Linked DNA regions of Homo sapiens: all the other regions are linked to region 3. The links are contacts of gene promoters, found by promoter capture Hi-C in blood cells and fetal thymus (Javierre and others, 2016). All regions are on one chromosome and are shown on one strand. Each heading gives the region's core, a stretch centred on a gene start or on the middle of the fragment in contact. The rest is flanking DNA. Distances are from core to core; before and after follow the strand shown.

Evidence for each region. Contacts are between HindIII fragments. The CHiCAGO score rates a contact against its expected background, and 5 or more counts as called.
Region 1: a fragment that was not itself captured here is called in contact with the fragment with the promoter of ATOSB in region 3 in 1 of 17 cell types (neutrophils); the score reaches 5.4 in neutrophils.
Region 2: a contact is called between a fragment that was not itself captured here and the fragment with the promoter of ATOSB in region 3, in 2 of 17 cell types (neutrophils and total CD8 T cells). The highest score is 5.9, in neutrophils.

What each region holds. Positions count from the first base shown.
Region 1 is chr9:35,677,818-35,681,037 of GRCh38, forward strand. It overlaps CA9 (carbonic anhydrase 9), which reads left to right. Exons shown (of 11, transcript NM_001216.3): 6 at 1-39; 7 at 1,368-1,525; 8 at 2,037-2,181; 9 at 2,296-2,322; 10 at 2,936-3,017; 11 at 3,148-3,220. The coding sequence ends at 3,208. Among named protein-coding and RNA genes, the nearest start is that of CA9, 5.5 kb to the left of the region's middle. The HindIII fragment of the contact is 1,194 bases long and covers 1,315-2,508 here.
Region 2 is chr9:35,819,910-35,822,973 of GRCh38, forward strand. It overlaps FAM221B (family with sequence similarity 221 member B), which reads right to left. Exons shown (of 7, transcript NM_001012446.4): 4 at 1-91. Among named protein-coding and RNA genes, the nearest start is that of HINT2, 6.4 kb to the left of the region's middle. The HindIII fragment of the contact is 6,407 bases long and covers 1-3,064 here.
Region 3 is chr9:35,114,134-35,117,527 of GRCh38, forward strand. ATOSB (atos homolog B) reads right to left here and starts at 1,729. Exons shown (of 9, transcript NM_025182.4): 1 at 1,672-1,729. RefSeq lists an enhancer at 1-540 and a silencer at 1,874-1,933. The HindIII fragment of the contact is 12,182 bases long and covers 1-3,394 here.

The DNA of each region.
Region 1 (3,220 bases), core at 662-3,161, 560 kb after region 3:
AGCAGTTGCTGTCTCGCTTGGAAGAAATCGCTGAGGAAGGTCAGTTTGTTGGTCTGGCCACTAATCTCTGTGGCCTAGTTCATAAAGAATCACCCTTTGGAGCTTCAGGTCTGAGGCTGGAGATGGGCTCCCTCCAGTGCAGGAGGGATTGAAGCATGAGCCAGCGCTCATCTTGATAATAACCATGAAGCTGACAGACACAGTTACCCGCAAACGGCTGCCTACAGATTGAAAACCAAGCAAAAACCGCCGGGCACGGTGGCTCACGCCTGTAATCCCAGCACTTTGGGAGGCCAAGGCAGGTGGATCACGAGGTCAAGAGATCAAGACCATCCTGGCCAACATGGTGAAACCCCATCTCTACTAAAAATACGAAAAAATAGCCAGGCGTGGTGGCGGGTGCCTGTAATCCCAGCTACTCGGGAGGCTGAGGCAGGAGAATGGCATGAACCCGGGAGGCAGAAGTTGCAGTGAGCCGAGATCGTGCCACTGCACTCCAGCCTGGGCAACAGAGCGAGACTCTTGTCTCAAAAAAAAAAAAAAAAAAGAAAACCAAGCAAAAACCAAAATGAGACAAAAAAAACAAGACCAAAAAATGGTGTTTGGAATTGTCAAGGTCAAGTCTGGAGAGCTAAACTTTTTCTGAGAACTGTTTATCTTTAATAAGCATCAAATATTTTAACTTTGTAAATACTTTTGTTGGAAATCGTTCTCTTCTTAGTCACTCTTGGGTCATTTTAAATCTCACTTACTCTACTAGACCTTTTAGGTTTCTGCTAGACTAGGTAGAACTCTGCCTTTGCATTTCTTGTGTCTGTTTTGTATAGTTATCAATATTCATATTTATTTACAAGTTATTCAGATCATTTTTTCTTTTCTTTTCTTTTTTTTTTTTTTTACATCTTTAGTAGAGACAGGGTTTCACCATATTGGCCAGGCTGCTCTCAAACTCCTGACCTTGTGATCCACCAGCCTCGGCCTCCCAAAGTGCTGGGATTCATTTTTTCTTTTTAATTTGCTCTGGGCTTAAACTTGTGGCCCAGCACTTTATGATGGTACACAGAGTTAAGAGTGTAGACTCAGACGGTCTTTCTTCTTTCCTTCTCTTCCTTCCTCCCTTCCCTCCCACCTTCCCTTCTCTCCTTCCTTTCTTTCTTCCTCTCTTGCTTCCTCAGGCCTCTTCCAGTTGCTCCAAAGCCCTGTACTTTTTTTTGAGTTACGTCTTATGGGAAGGGCCTGCACTTAGCGAAGAAGTGGTCTCAGAGTTGAGTTACCTTGGCTTCTGGGAGGTGAAACTGTATCCCTATACCCTGAAGCTTTAAGGGGGTGCAATGTAGATGAGACCCCAACATAGATCCTCTTCACAGGCTCAGAGACTCAGGTCCCAGGACTGGACATATCTGCACTCCTGCCCTCTGACTTCAGCCGCTACTTCCAATATGAGGGGTCTCTGACTACACCGCCCTGTGCCCAGGGTGTCATCTGGACTGTGTTTAACCAGACAGTGATGCTGAGTGCTAAGCAGGTGGGCCTGGGGTGTGTGTGGACACAGTGGGTGCGGGGGAAAGAGGATGTAAGATGAGATGAGAAACAGGAGAAGAAAGAAATCAAGGCTGGGCTCTGTGGCTTACGCCTATAATCCCACCACGTTGGGAGGCTGAGGTGGGAGAATGGTTTGAGCCCAGGAGTTCAAGACAAGGCGGGGCAACATAGTGTGACCCCATCTCTACCAAAAAAACCCCAACAAAACCAAAAATAGCCGGGCATGGTGGTATGCGCCTAGTCCCAGCTACTCAAGGAGGCTGAGGTGGGAAGATCGCTTGATTCCAGGAGTTTGAGACTGCAGTGAGCTATGATCCCACCACTGCCTACCATCTTTAGGATACATTTATTTATTTATAAAAGAAATCAAGAGGCTGGATGGGGAATACAGGAGCTGGAGGGTGGAGCCCTGAGGTGCTGGTTGTGAGCTGGCCTGGGACCCTTGTTTCCTGTCATGCCATGAACCCACCCACACTGTCCACTGACCTCCCTAGCTCCACACCCTCTCTGACACCCTGTGGGGACCTGGTGACTCTCGGCTACAGCTGAACTTCCGAGCGACGCAGCCTTTGAATGGGCGAGTGATTGAGGCCTCCTTCCCTGCTGGAGTGGACAGCAGTCCTCGGGCTGCTGAGCCAGGTACAGCTTTGTCTGGTTTCCCCCCAGCCAGTAGTCCCTTATCCTCCCATGTGTGTGCCAGTGTCTGTCATTGGTGGTCACAGCCCGCCTCTCACATCTCCTTTTTCTCTCCAGTCCAGCTGAATTCCTGCCTGGCTGCTGGTGAGTCTGCCCCTCCTCTTGGTCCTGATGCCAGGAGACTCCTCAGCACCATTCAGCCCCAGGGCTGCTCAGGACCGCCTCTGCTCCCTCTCCTTTTCTGCAGAACAGACCCCAACCCCAATATTAGAGAGGCAGATCATGGTGGGGATTCCCCCATTGTCCCCAGAGGCTAATTGATTAGAATGAAGCTTGAGAAATCTCCCAGCATCCCTCTCGCAAAACAATCCCCCCCCTTTTTTTAAAGATAGGGTCTCACTCTGTTGCCCAGGCTGGGGTGTTGTGGCACGATCATAGCTCACTGCAGCCTCGAACTCCTAGGCTCAGGCAATCCTTTCACCTTAGCTTCTCAAAGCACTGGGACTGTAGGCATGAGCCACTGTGCCTGGCCCCAAACGGCCCTTTTACTTGGCTTTTAGGAAGCAAAAACGGTGCTTATCTTACCCCTTCTCGTGTATCCACCCTCATCCCTTGGCTGGCCTCTTCTGGAGACTGAGGCACTAGGGGCTGCCTGAGAACTCGGGGCAGGGGTGGTGGAGTGCACTGAGGCAGGTGTTGAGGAACTCTGCAGACCCCTCTTCCTTCCCAAAGCAGCCCTCTCTGCTCTCCATCGCAGGTGACATCCTAGCCCTGGTTTTTGGCCTCCTTTTTGCTGTCACCAGCGTCGCGTTCCTTGTGCAGATGAGAAGGCAGCACAGGTATTACACTGACCCTTTCTTCAGGCACAAGCTTCCCCCACCCTTGTGGAGTCACTTCATGCAAAGCGCATGCAAATGAGCTGCTCCTGGGCCAGTTTTCTGATTAGCCTTTCCTGTTGTGTACACACAGAAGGGGAACCAAAGGGGGTGTGAGCTACCGCCCAGCAGAGGTAGCCGAGACTGGAGCCTAGAGGCTGGATCTT
Region 2 (3,064 bases), core at 102-2,601, 710 kb after region 3:
CTCAACAAGTGTCCACAAAAGCATCTGGACTCATCCCCAATCCGGAAACAGTCCCATAGGTAATGGGGGCAGCGCCAGCCAATGTAGAGACCTAGGTATGCAGGATTAAAAGTGAGAAGTAAAAAAATTCTAAGCTCCCCCGAAGTGTTCTTACCTATCCCTTGATGGAGGTGAGGGGGTGGGGGGAACTTACCTCTCCCCACCCCCAGGTATCTTTATCTCCACCTGGAAGTCCTCACCTCTACCCCTTAGATTTTCTTTTTCCTCAGGGTTTTCTCATTACCCCAGAAGTGTCTTCAGTTCTCTTCCTACCCAGGATCTACTCCATCTTTGTCAGCCTGCCAGAGATGACTCAAGAGAGTGGTTTCTGAGCAGGAAGATTATAGATGAAATTTTGTTTGAGGATGAACATGAATCTCACTGAGTTCTCTGTGACCACAGGGATTCTCATCTCCTCTCCTCATCCCACTAAAGCCCAACTTTGCTTTGTTTTCTTGAAGTGTCTAAGGTGAGGGAAAGGGAAGATGATTGGCCAGATGTACAGACAATGGGATTGGCTCCTAAGGAGCATATTTATTGAAGGTCCTGAAGAGGAGAAGGAGGTTGGATAGCTCTGGTGCTGGAAGGTAGGAGGAGGGCTTCCTCTCACGTCTCCACGTTGGTACCTTAATACCTCCCTCTGTGTTCCTGGTGCTATTGTACCAATGCTCTCTGTGTACCTAAGAAGGGCTGCCAAAGGTTCTTCAAGGGTCAGGAGAAAGGGGTAGGTAGCAGTCATGAGTGGTGAAGACCAAAAATTATATATTTTGAGGCTAAGCAAGGAGGCGTGGAAAGGAAAGTGAGGCTAAGAAGTGTCCCTGAGAGTAGGCACCAGCAAGAGGTCACAACCCTCGAGAGCTGGTGTTCAGCAGTGAGGTCTGAATCCCTGGCTTCGTGACTAGTCTTGAGGTGAGGGTGGTGCTGTGCAACTGAGGGAGGATAACCAGATGGCACCTCCAATTCAGATTTTCTCATTCTCCATGAGAACTGAGAGTACCCCAACTTCTAGCCAAGAATCCTGTATGAGGCCCCATGCAGTGGGACTGCCAGGTGTAGGATTCTTAGTCCCAATTAAAGGCTCAACTGAAATGTCACCTCCACCAAAAAGGTGTCCCTGACTTCCCCTGTCTGTCTGGGCCCCTCCTATTGCCATCCATAGCTCCTTGTGCTACTCCTGTTGCAGTACACTGCATTATAATAGATCATTCCCTTGTATTCCTATTAGTCCATGAGTTCTTCAAGGGAGCTGTCTTTTCACCCGTATCTCTCATCCTAGCACAAGGCCTGGCACAAAATGGTTGCTGAGAGAACGTAGATTGCCTGATTAAACAATTGAGCTCATTCCTTCAAGAGGAAGAGAGAGCCAGTATTCAGGCATAACCCTGAGGTTCCATAACATGAATAAGGAGAGTGGCATCATCTGGTCTTTGACTGTGGTCAGGGCCACAATTCACAATTCCGTGCCTCAGATTAAGTTTTCTTGTCTTACCCATAGTCTGTCAGGATCTAAAGCCTGTCTAGATGTGGCTTTTGGCTTTGCTTCTTCTGTCTTGATGCTGATTGCCTGTAGTGCCAGTGCCCCCTTACACCAGGGAGGCTTTGTTGAGAGAGCAAGGTATAGGCAGTCACAATGCAGGTGGGCGGGAGCCAGGATTCCACTAGAGGAGTTCCGAATTCTGTCTGGAGTAGCAGGATACATTAAAAAAGCAGGAGGTGAGGCCCAAAGATCAAGGCCTGCTCGGAGGGCCGGGGGGCAGTCAAGTCCAAGCACTAGTGTAGGAATCAGTGCCCAGCATTCAGATGAAGAAGACTGGAGTTTGAACAGGGAGACTGGCAACTATACTTCAGATTCTGTTACAAGTGTTAGTGCTCTTAAAGTGGGACAATTGGAAGGTGGCTGTGGATTCCAGTGGGACCCTCTACTCTCTGTCCTGATTCCAAACTCCCTTCCTGTTGTGGGTGGACAAGGCCTGGCGGGGGAGGAGACATTATTTGGGATGCCATTTTGATTCTGTCTAACACAGTCCAGTTCCACAATCACATAATCACATTTGCATGATGACATCTCTTTATGCATAGTATGTCTCCATAAAACACATGGCTGTCTTTACAGGAACAATGTCTCCAGCCTAGCCCTCTCTCCTGAGCTTCAGACCCATATAGCCAGCTGTCTACTAGACTCTTGGGCCAGCATGTTTCATAAGCACTTCAAATGTCTTATGCCCAATTATTCCCTCCAAACCTGGCTCTCATCCTTTGTCCTCTGTTCATCCAACACATGCCTACCAAGCATCTACCCTTTTCTAGGCATTCAGTTAATGGCACCATTATCCTACCACTTACTTATGCCAAAAACTGGTGGCACTCCAGGCATTTCCCTCTCTCTTATCCTATACATCCACTGTTCCAATGGTCAGTTTCACTTTGTTAGCTTTTCTTTTCTTTTCCCTACTTTTCTTGTTTCTTTTCTTTCTTTTTTGACAGAGTCTCGCTCTGTTGCCTAGGCTGGAGTGCAGTGGTGCAACCTCGGCTCACTGCAACCTCCACCTCCTGGGTTCAAGCAATTCTCCTGCCTCAGCCTCCCAAGTAGCTGGGATTACAGGTGTCCGCCACCACACCCGGCTAATTTTTTGTATTTTTAATAGAGACGGGGTTTCACCATGTTGTCCAGGCTGGTCTCGAGCTCCTAGCCTCAGGTGATCCACCCCTTGGCCTCCCAAAGTGCTGGGATTACAGGTGGTAGCCGCTGCGCTCGGCCTGTTAGCATTTCTTGAACCTGTCCACTTCTCTCCACCTAAGCCCATCTACTTCTTTCCTGGTTATGACCAGTGCCTCACAATGTATTCACTTGCCTTTCCATACCTCCTCTCTTAGCCTCACAACTCCAGTCTTGTCTTTCTCCAGTCTACCCTATTGCCAGAGTGATCTTGCAGAAACAGAAATTCGTTCATGTTATTGTCCTACTTAAAACCTTCTAGTGACTCTCAGTTGCCCTCAGGATATAATTCTAGCTTTTAACTTGGCA
Region 3 (3,394 bases), core at 479-2,978:
CAAAGCAGAAAGGCTATATCCTCCAGTCTCAGCACAGCAAACTGATGCCCTTTCTCTTCATGCCCCACCCACTCACACAAACCGCCCCAGTCCTGAGGAAGCTGGAGAGTCTGCCCTAGGCCCGCCCTCTCTGAGAGACTGTCTGGGAAGCAGTGTTGCCATAGCAATCAGCTCCTCCTCAAAAGGCTTCAGCCTGCCCTTTTTTACCCCACCCTACCCCAGGGCTTTGTCTGTCCTCAGCAGACCCACCCCCCTCCCCAGCCAGTCTCTCAGCTCCTGGGTGGTTGTGTGAGGAGGCTGGCTTGGGGCCCCTTTTAGCAACACTGTCACACTCATTTAGCCACTGTGTGGAACTCAAGCCTTTCCCACCCTCTCCCAGCCAGCCCAGGGGCAAAAAGAACTCTAGCACTCCATCAAATCCCCTCAGGGAAGCAGAGGAGCCCTCAAGAGAACTAGGTCCTAGCCTGTTCTGATAGTGCTTCCAAGCCTGGAGTGTGGGGAGCCACTCCCTCTTCCTCCCCTAGCTGTGGCTGGAACCTCACAACCCTTACTGGGTTCAGCTTACAGTCGTGGCCCACCTCTCAAAACAGACAGAAGACCCTCAATACTCCTCACCACTTCCCCCCTCCCACAGAAGCCCTAGCGTTCCCTACCCAGAAGGATAAGGGTGGGGAAAATCTGTTTGTGGCAAGTGGTTAAATGTGGCTACCAGTCACTTGGGGATCTATGCGAGAGACCTGGGTGGTAGTGGTGGGGGTGGGGTCTGAGCCCTGCCGCTGGTTACCAGGGTCTCTGGTCATTGATAACAAAGTACCGGGCAGGGCACAGCTCCTAGATGGGCAAGGGCCAGGCCAGGCCCTGGGGCAAGGAAGGAAGTGGGAAATGAGCACACCCAGAGCATAAGGGCAGGGCGGGGGAGGGGGGAGACAGAGACCAAGGCCGGCTCTGGGAGGAACAGGAACTAGGATGGGGGGTTGACAGGAACCCAGCGGGGGAAGGGTCCCCCGGGACCTCAGCTTAGGGAAGAAACCCCAGTCTCAGCTGGACAGATCCAAAATAGACTGAGGAGACATTCACACAAGCCCTAGTGACAAGCAGGGTCTGACTCCTCTCTGAGTGCCCAGGCCAGAAGGCGGAGTTAAAAGCTGAGCAGACAGGAGTGCAATAGATTGGCCTCTTCACCCCACTAACCCCAACACCCTTGCTCTTAGAACCCAGAACACAAGTGTCTTCCTGTAGTTACTACAATGCCCTAAACTGTTACTTTGTCAAAGTACTGGGGGTTCTGTTCTCCTGCCTCAAGTTGGGCCTACAACCCCTTCCCCTAGATAGTGCCCGCAGACCCTCCGACACCGCTACACTCCTTCTCCATTAAACAGCCCCCCTTCCTTCAAAGCACCTCCATGTCCCCTGCCCCTCATGTACCTCCTCCAACCCCCCACATCAGACAGAGACAGCCCCCTCACAATGTACCTCGCAACCCCCCCACAACAAAGCGCTCCCGCCCTTCCCCCATAGAGGCCTCTGGAGAATGCACCTTGTTGCCCACACATTGAGTCCCCAACTGCTCCCGCGACTTCGTATCTTCCCTCAACACACAGCAGTCTCCAGATCGTCTGCAAAGCGCACCCCCATCCGCGTCCCTTCTTCCACGCTCACCCTGCCCCACACCTGTAGTTCCGTGGGTCCCGTTGCACTTGGGGACGTGGTAGTGGTTGGGGCAGTTACTGAGCAGCCCTAGCTGTAGCCTCCGCCTGCAAACCTCGCCCCTTCAGTCTGAGCCCCGCCCCCGCAACGCCCGGGCCCACCCTCTCCCTTGTCCCACCTTCCACCTTCTGTGGACTTGTCCCTTTCCTCGTTTAATTTCTCGAGCTCCTCCCCTGTAGCCCGGGCCCCGCCCCCTTCTGACCTCGCACCTCCTTCGCGTTTTCTTTGCATTTCCCCAGGATCCTCAGCTTTTCCCAGGCCCCACCCCCGATCCCCGCCTCCTCTCGGTCTCTCCGCCTTTCACCAGGACCCGCCCCCTCGGATTCCAGCCTGGCAGAAGTCGCGCCAAGACCCTTCCACCACGATCCCCCTCCCATCTCAGAGCCCCTCCTCCTTCCGCCCCTTCTCCCTCACGCCTCACCCGGGCGGTCGCACTCCAACCAGGATCCGCTGGCTCTGATTGGCGGTGGCGGCCCCAAAGGAGGAAGGAGGAGACAAAGTGATGGTCGCAGGTCGCCTGAGGTCCCACCCCGGCCACGTGCGGCTTCTGTGATGACAAGTCTAGAGGGGCGGGGCCTCGGCCGGCAGGCTGCTAGCCTGAGCGGAGCGGATCAGGGCAGAGGTGGGGAGATGGAGCCAGGGCCAAAGCCACCAGCCTGAGGGCTCTGAGCCGGGTTGGGGCTATCTCGCTGCTTTCGCACCGGTGTGAGCTGCCGCCGGAACTCTAACCTCTTTGTAGGGATGTCTGGGTGGGCGCGTGCATTTGCACTAATAGGGGAGGTCCGTAGGGATTGCAAGGTAGTGCAAGGAATCTCAGGGGTCTGTGAAAATGAGGGAATCTGGGCGGTGGGGTTCAGGTCTGCGAGGTTGAGCAGTTTCTGAAGCCTACGCTGTGCAGGCGGGTGTGGGTTCTGGGATGGGATGGACAGTAGGAGTCAGATCAGTACCTACTGAGGCAGGTCAGCGAGATCTGTGAATTTTACGAGATGAGTGTTGATATGGAGTTAGGAGGGCCTGCAATTGCTGGAGAAAAGTGAGGCCTTTCCCTTGTACAGGTGTCTAATGAACTGCATGACAGTTACATATGTTCTGCAGTTTAAGCGGCGCCCTCTCCAACCTCTCCCCAGGAGATACAATAAGGGAGGGCGACGCTTCCCAGACACCGGTAGATGGCAGCACAGGACACTTGCAGAACTGAGACAGCCCAGCTCAGCGCCGATCTGTGGCCTCTCCGAGGAGCGGACCGTTTGGGTCTGGATTTGATCAAGTTCTACAAAAGTCACATTCTTTTTTATTTTTTTTTGAGACGGCGTCTCGCTCTTTCGCCCAAACTGGAGTGCAGTGGTGCGATCTCGGCTCACTGCAACCTCCGCCTACTGGGTTCAAGCAATTCTCCTGCCTCAGCCTTCAGAGTAGCTGGGATTACAAGCGCGCGCCACCAGGCCGGGCTAATTTTCGTATTTTTGGTAGAGACAGGTTTCACCATGTTGGCCAGGCTGGTCTCAAATTCCTGACCTCAAGCGATCCGCCCGCCTCGGCTGCCCAAAGTGTTGGGATTACTGGCGTGAGCCACAGCACCCGGCCAAATCTCAGATTCTTTAGGCTCTGTGACTTTGTCAGTAGTTAACTTAAACTGGTTTACTCAACGTCAGTGGTGTGGAAGCGCAAAAAAAAGAAAGAAAAAAGT